2 separate regions of the Homo sapiens genome follow, and region 2 is linked to region 1. Evidence: promoter capture Hi-C in 16 types of primary human blood cells and fetal thymus (Javierre and others, 2016). All regions are on one chromosome and are shown on one strand. The core of a region is centred on a gene start or on the middle of the fragment in contact, and the rest is flanking DNA. Distances in the headings are between cores, read along the strand shown. Region 1 holds the start of PKN2 (protein kinase N2). Region 2 holds the start of DNTTIP2 (deoxynucleotidyltransferase terminal interacting protein 2).

The links. The method cuts DNA at HindIII sites, captures the fragments that hold promoters and counts their contacts. A CHiCAGO score of 5 or more calls a contact.
Region 2: a contact is called between the fragment with the promoter of DNTTIP2 here and the fragment with the promoter of PKN2 in region 1, in 3 of 17 cell types (naive CD8 T cells, total CD8 T cells and non-activated CD4 T cells). The highest score is 9.2, in naive CD8 T cells.

What each region holds. Positions count from the first base shown.
Region 1 is chr1:88,682,551-88,685,757 of GRCh38, reverse strand. PKN2 (protein kinase N2) reads right to left here and starts at 1,485. Exons shown (of 22, transcript NM_006256.4): 1 at 1,130-1,485. The coding sequence starts at 1,177. PKN2-AS1 (PKN2 antisense RNA 1) reads left to right here and starts at 554. Exons shown (of 4, transcript NR_110682.1): 1 at 554-594. RefSeq lists enhancers at 1,211-1,290, 1,321-1,650. The HindIII fragment of the contact is 6,383 bases long and covers 1-3,207 here.
Region 2 is chr1:93,877,741-93,880,947 of GRCh38, reverse strand. DNTTIP2 (deoxynucleotidyltransferase terminal interacting protein 2) reads left to right here and starts at 1,742. Exons shown (of 7, transcript NM_014597.5): 1 at 1,742-1,871; 2 at 3,086-3,207. The coding sequence starts at 1,800. RefSeq lists enhancers at 920-1,735, 1,587-2,016. The HindIII fragment of the contact is 5,310 bases long and covers 1-2,233 here.

The sequences.
Region 1 (3,207 bases), core at 236-2,735:
AACTGTCCAACACACAAAAAGAAATGCAGGCATGCTATTTTTTTCTCCTAATTCCCATCTACAATCTTTGAGTAGCTAAAAGATAACTATATTAAAATAAAGCAAAATAACTTTTAAGTCAAAAAACAAACATCTCTGGAACACTCCCAAGTAATGAAAAACCCGACAGGGTAGCTTAAGTCCCCATGTACACCATAGAGATCTAAAGAAAATCGTGCCTACATTATCAAATATTTATCTGGAAATGGGAAATAACATTGCTACTCGACATGACTTAACTAAGCGATCTACTTTGCTCTCATCTTTTGCAGACATGTGGTGCCCAATGTTTTCCCTTAGTCGACTGCTTTCTCATTAGTAAACAACTTATTAGCTCTTTCTCTGGTGCTCAAATGAGAGGGAAAATGAAAGTCTGAAAAGCATCAGCATCTGAGCTCCCGGATCTGGGCAGGGGTAGCAGAGAAAGGCACCCTGTATTTATCACTCGGTTAAAAAAAAAAAAAGAAAGGAAAAGAAAAGAAAAAGATAACCCTCAAAATAGAGGAAAGAAACTCTGTCACCTGAAGAGGGCTGCTGAAGTGAAGCAAACATTTGGTGAGACTCGTTTTTTAAAAAAACTTGTCTAGGGGCTGGAAGTTATGGGGGCGCTCTTTGTGCGGAGTCTGAGGGGAGGGGGAGGGACAAGAAAACAGCTTGGGAGTCATTCAAAGGAGTTTAAGGAGCGGTGTACGGAGGAAAGGCGGGGCGGGGCCCGGCCGCGCGAAGGGAGGGGGCAACAGGGGCGTTCGCGGGTAGCTCTGACACCGAGGGAGGGGGCGACGGGCCGGCCTCTCCGGGGACCAGGCGAGAGCAGGCTCCCGCTGCAGCAGGGCTGCAGAGATGGGGTCCCCTCTGGTAGGCAGAATCAAACCAAAGCGGTGGCAGGCCAGGGCTTTGGCGGGGGAGAGGGTCCGGCTCCCCAGGGAAGCGGTTCCCCGAGGGAAGCATTTCCCGAGTGACATCCCGGAGTTTCCGCACTTAGCGGGCTAGGGGCGCGGCGGCCGCAGGGCTTTCCTCGGTCCCCGACGCCGCGCGGGGCTCTCTCCCTGTCTCCTCCGCCAGCGCCTCTCACCAGGGCCGCGGCCCTTACCTGCAGTTCCGTGAGCAGAATCTCCCCCCGTTCGGGGTTGGACGCCATTGCGCTCCGGTATGGACTCCGCACCTGGACGCGGCCGCCTCTGGCGAAGGGAGAAGGCGGGACGGGGCTCGGGGTGGGGGTGAGGAGAGGGGAGAGAAAGAAAAAAAAAAAAACAACTAGGGATTCATGGAGGCGCAGCCCCTGCTGGAGGCGCGGCTTATTCCGTCCGGTTCATCGAGAGCGGCGGGGAGCTAGGGCACTCGTAGCGGGCTTCCTCTCGCCGCCCTCACCGGACTGTTCGTCTAGTCGCTCCCTCTGGGCGACGCCAGGAGCCGCCTCAAGCCTCTCCGTGCGGGCGCTGCGGCCGCGGCTGCAGCTCCTCCTGTCGCACCATTTGGCTGTCACCGCGTCGCAAAAGCGGCCTCACTTGGCGGCTGCCAGCACACGTGACGGCGGCAGCCACTGCCCCTCATCGGGCAGGGAAGGTGGGGCGGAGGGGTTCCCTAGGGCGAACGCGGCGAGGGGGCGGGGCGTCTTCCGACCCGACTCCGCGGCGAGGGCAGCCATTGGACTCGGCTGGGGTGAAAATGAGGGGAAAGGACTGGGCTCGAGTCTCTGGGGAGGCGGGAAGAGGAAGAAAACACACGCCTACTTTCCTGCTGCGTTTAACGGCTTCACTGTGAACGCTAGAACTCGGGAGCCTGCTCGCTGTTGTTTTTTCGGGTTTCGTTTTTTTTTTCTTTCTTTTTTTTTTTTCCCAGTTCCACCTTGCCGAAACTTGGGCCTAACTTTAACAGGCCCTTTTCTAACCTCCATAACCCAAAGAGCTTCGGGACTCAGATCTTACAGATTATTCCTCTGCTCTCCCCTTGACCCCCACGTCAACCCAAACTAATAATCTTGCCTTTTGCTCACCCTCAAACCCAGCCCCCAGCGCGCCTTCTCGACCAGTTAAGGTGCACAGCTAGCTAAACGGGTATGGTCTGTACTTTTCATGAAATGTAAGCGGCTGGATCCCTGGCAACTTTTAATGTACGGCCTTTAAGATGTCTTTTTCTTGAGGTTGAACTACTGTTGCTTGTACTGGAGAACTGTACAGAGCTGAGAATTAGCTGGGTTTTTTTGGGTTGTTTTAACTTTATTTAAGGGAGGGGGAGGTGGGACGGGATTACCCTCGGGAAAGGAAAAAAGCCACCTTTCCTTGGCGTGGTAAGCATTAAAGCTAACCTGACTACTTAGTAAAATATAGCTAAGTAAAGTAAATCTAGGTGTTTGTTTTTAATGACACTATGGTATTAAGGAATTTCGAAGTCTCCTACAGGTAGCTTTTGTTTTTGTTTTGTCTGAGCAGTGAATGGATAGGTAAACGCGTAACTTTTGATTTTTTGAAGCTGCGGTACAATACCTTTGTTAAAACTACCTGGAGAGAGTGGTAAGGGTTATTTAGGTACGTTGCTACTTAGAAAGGGCATTCGTTGACATATTTCTTAGGAAGTGTAACATTATGTACTTCTCACACGCTCCATGTAACTCTGTTGGCCTGATGCCAGGACTTAACGTCTATCCTTTTGCCTTCTCAAGTCTCATACATCAATTCAGCAAACATGTATTGAAGATCTGGAGTTCTGTGGCCACAGTTTCTGAACTCTAACTTATCATATGTGTGATAAAGAATTTTTCTGGTGTGTACTTCACAAGTCTTACAACTATTTATGTGTCTAGTATATTGCCTTGGTTGAAGATGATAATTAAATACATGAAAGAACACTTGGAAAGGCCGGGATATGATTACCTTTACTGGTAACTAAAAGCCAGATGGTTTCCTAGGCTTTGGAGTTACAGAAAGGATTAGGAGTTCTTATCCGGCCAGGCGCAGTGGTTCACGCCTTTAATCCCAGCACTTTGGAAGGCCAAGGCTGGCCGATCATCTGAGGTCGGGAGTTCGAGACCAGCCTGGCCAACTTGGTGAAACTGTCTCTACTAAGAATACAAAAACTAGCTGGGCGTGGTGGTGTGCGCCTGTAATCCCAGCTACTCGGGAGGCTGAGGCAGGGGAATTGCTTGAACCCAGGAGGTAGAGGTTGCAGTAA
Region 2 (3,207 bases), core at 493-2,992, 5.2 Mb before region 1:
CCATTCTTCTGAGATGTATCACCTACTTACAGAGGTTATTATCTACCCAAAATCTTCTCTTCTTCACTCCACTTGAACATACTTGCATTCACATTCTCCTCTCTGTTTCAGATATCAACTCTTTCCTCCTGGCTCAAAGGAAGGTGCATTCTTTTCTGACTACACCCACATCTCTGTTTATTATCCAGTTCAGTTAGCATTAGGCTCGGCTGCAAATAGAAAAATCCTTAATTAACAGTGGCTTTTAACAAGGTGTTTCCATCAGGTGAAAAATCTAGAAGGCGGCTCTTGAGGGCTCATAGGGCAGCTCCACAAGTTGATTTTTCCATCTCACTGCTATGCCATCTCTAAAGCATGCCTTCATCCTTATGGCACAAACTTGCCGCCTGAAAACCAGCGAACCCAACTTTCCAGGAAGTAAAATGCACTTTAAAAGATCAGGAGGGCTGGGCGAGGTCGTTTAGGCCTATAATCCCAGCACTGTAATCCCAGCACTTTGAGAGGCCGAGGCGGGTGAATCACCTGAAGGCAGGAGTTCAAGACCAGCCTGCCCAACATGGTGAAACCCCGTCTCTACTAAAAATACAAAAAAAAAATTAGCCAGGAATGGTGGCGGGCGCCTGTAATCTCAGCTACTCAGGAGGCTGAAGCAGGAGAATCGCTTGAACCCGGGAGGCGGAGGTTGCAGTGACCCAAGATTGCGCCATTGCACTCCACCCTGGGCGACAGAGCAAGACTCCGTCTCCAAAAAAAAAAGTCAGGGACGGCCTCCTCTCTTTTAGATGCCGTCCCTAAAGACATGCACACAATTTATACCTAATTGGCTAAAACGTAGTCACATAGCCACATTTGGCTGCAAGAGAGACTATAAAATAAGCTATTTTAAGCTGGGAAGCAGTGTGTCCATCGACACAGTGTTCTGTGACTTTAAATAAAAAATTGGTTTTCTGTCATGAAGTAGAGACTAGGTTTGGTGAGGCACTCATTCATCCTTTCTCACCTCCAACAATAATTTGCGTTTACTTATTTTTTCAACCCCTTCCCATCCCCTCAAACATAGTTCTCTACCTTTTATCTCAAAAGATAACCAAAGAAACCTCTTGATTCTGGTCATACTCTTCCTTTCACTGTGACAATAACAACAACAACAACAACAACAAAACCTTATTCTTCTCCTTTACAATTTCTTTAACGTTTTTTTCTTTTCTGCTATTCCCAATCCCTAAACACCATCTCACGTTTAGATTATACAGCTTTCCACTTCGTCTCCCAGTTCCTGCGAGCACCTTATATCCCTTTTACCCCAACCAAGTCCTTAAATTTTATTTATAGTTAGCGTCACAATACACGAGTAAATATTGTCTTTCTTTAAAAAGCACAAATATCTCAAACTTCTCCCTTGGACATACCAATGGCTACATTAAGCTCTTTAGAACGTAGAAATGAAAGAACGCCTCCCGGGTTCAAACGATTCTACTAAACAAATGAAAGAACGAATGGCATGTAAGTGCGTTTTTACAATTCATGTGAACGGGTACGCTAAGACCCTCTGTCACTGCGGGCTTCGCCGCCCCGATGAAGGTCTTTCCCAGCAAAAATCTGGCTTGCCTTCTACAGCTCTGAAATGCACACTTAAACCCAGGCCCTTTGTCTCTGACCGCCCTGGCCTGAACTGGCTGGGCGGAGATTCTCGCGAATTCTCGGATCTGCGCGGAAAACGCGCTCGAGGCAGTTCTCTGACGCATTTCCGGAGCGCCAGGGAAGAGGGAAGTCGTGGTGGTCGCGAGGGAGCCGGAAAGATGGTGGTTACCAGATCTGCACGGGCTAAGGCCAGCATCCAAGCCGCGTCGGCTGAAAGTTCCGGGCAAAAGGTAGGAAATCCAGTCTTCCCTACTTCTCGCCGCTTCGCAGAGCCGCGCTCAGGCAGGCGGGGCGGCGCAAGGGTCCGGTTAAGGGTGAGGACCTGCCGACAGAGAGGACCCGAGCTTGCCGCGCGCTTGGGTCTCCCAGGCCCCGTGCTAAGCCTGTCACGGAAACTGTTTAGCCTTCACCACTGTCTCTTAAGGCAATTTTTAGTATGGAAGAGAGGTTAGATAACTTTATTTGGGTCGTTCAACTCCTTAATGCAGAAGCACAGTTCGAACTTTTAAACCTTACTGTTAACACGGTACCAAGGAGGGTTAATTTCGGCCACCATGCACAAGCCCCATTTAGGGGGGCTGGAAAAAAAGCTTCGTTTTCACGTGGGGAGGCTGGCAGCTGTCCAGCATCACCTCCTTAAGGCGTGAGGAGGGCTGTGGTGTCGTCGCCTGGTGACTCTTAGTGGCGTTAGTCGGCTGTCTCATTCTGACTCAGCGATGCAGGGAACGGAGCGGCGGCGATTTTTTCCTGTACGTAAAGGTAAGGGCGGCGACTGATTCCATCAGTGTGTTCCTAAACACATCGGTGTTCAGAGTTAATATTCCCTTTCTCCCCTCTTCTATAGGTGGGTCAGAATGTTGGTCTACCCATTATATTTGACTTTAAACAGAAAAATTTTAATCGTTCTGCTTCTGAAGTTACATCTAGGAAGGATGAGGCTAGTGAAGTAAATGCAGGGTTGGCTCCAGTGTTTAAATTTTGATTTTTTTGTTTGTTTGTTTTTGATTCGGAGTCTTGCTCTGTCGCCCAGGCTAGAGTGCAGTGGCGCAGCCTCGGCTCACTGCAACTTCTGCCTCCCGGATTCCAACAATTCTTCTGCCTCAGGCTCCTGAGTAGTTGGGATTACAGGTGCGCACCAACACGCCCCGCTAATTTTTTTACTTTGAGTAGAGATGGGGTTTCACTATGTTGGCCAAGCTGTCTCGAACTCCTGACCTCGTGATCCACCTGCCTCGGCCTCCCAGAGTGCTGGGATTACAGCCGTAAGCCACCGCGCCCGGCCAAATTTTGATTTTTTAAAAATCATGAGTTGGGCAGGTTTTTTTGTTTTTTGTTTTAAAGGTAATCTTGTTTACTGGGTTTTAGCTTTTGGGGTCAGTATTTCATTTGCTTTGCCCTTGTTCCAGCCCTACCTAAATTACAGTGTGTTTTCTCTGGTTTGCAGAGTTTTGCTGCTAATGGGATTCAAGCGCATCCAGAAAGTAGTACTGGATCTGATGCCCGAACTACTGCTGAATCACAGACCACTGGGAAGCAAAGTTTAATCCCTAGAACTCCTAAAGCTAG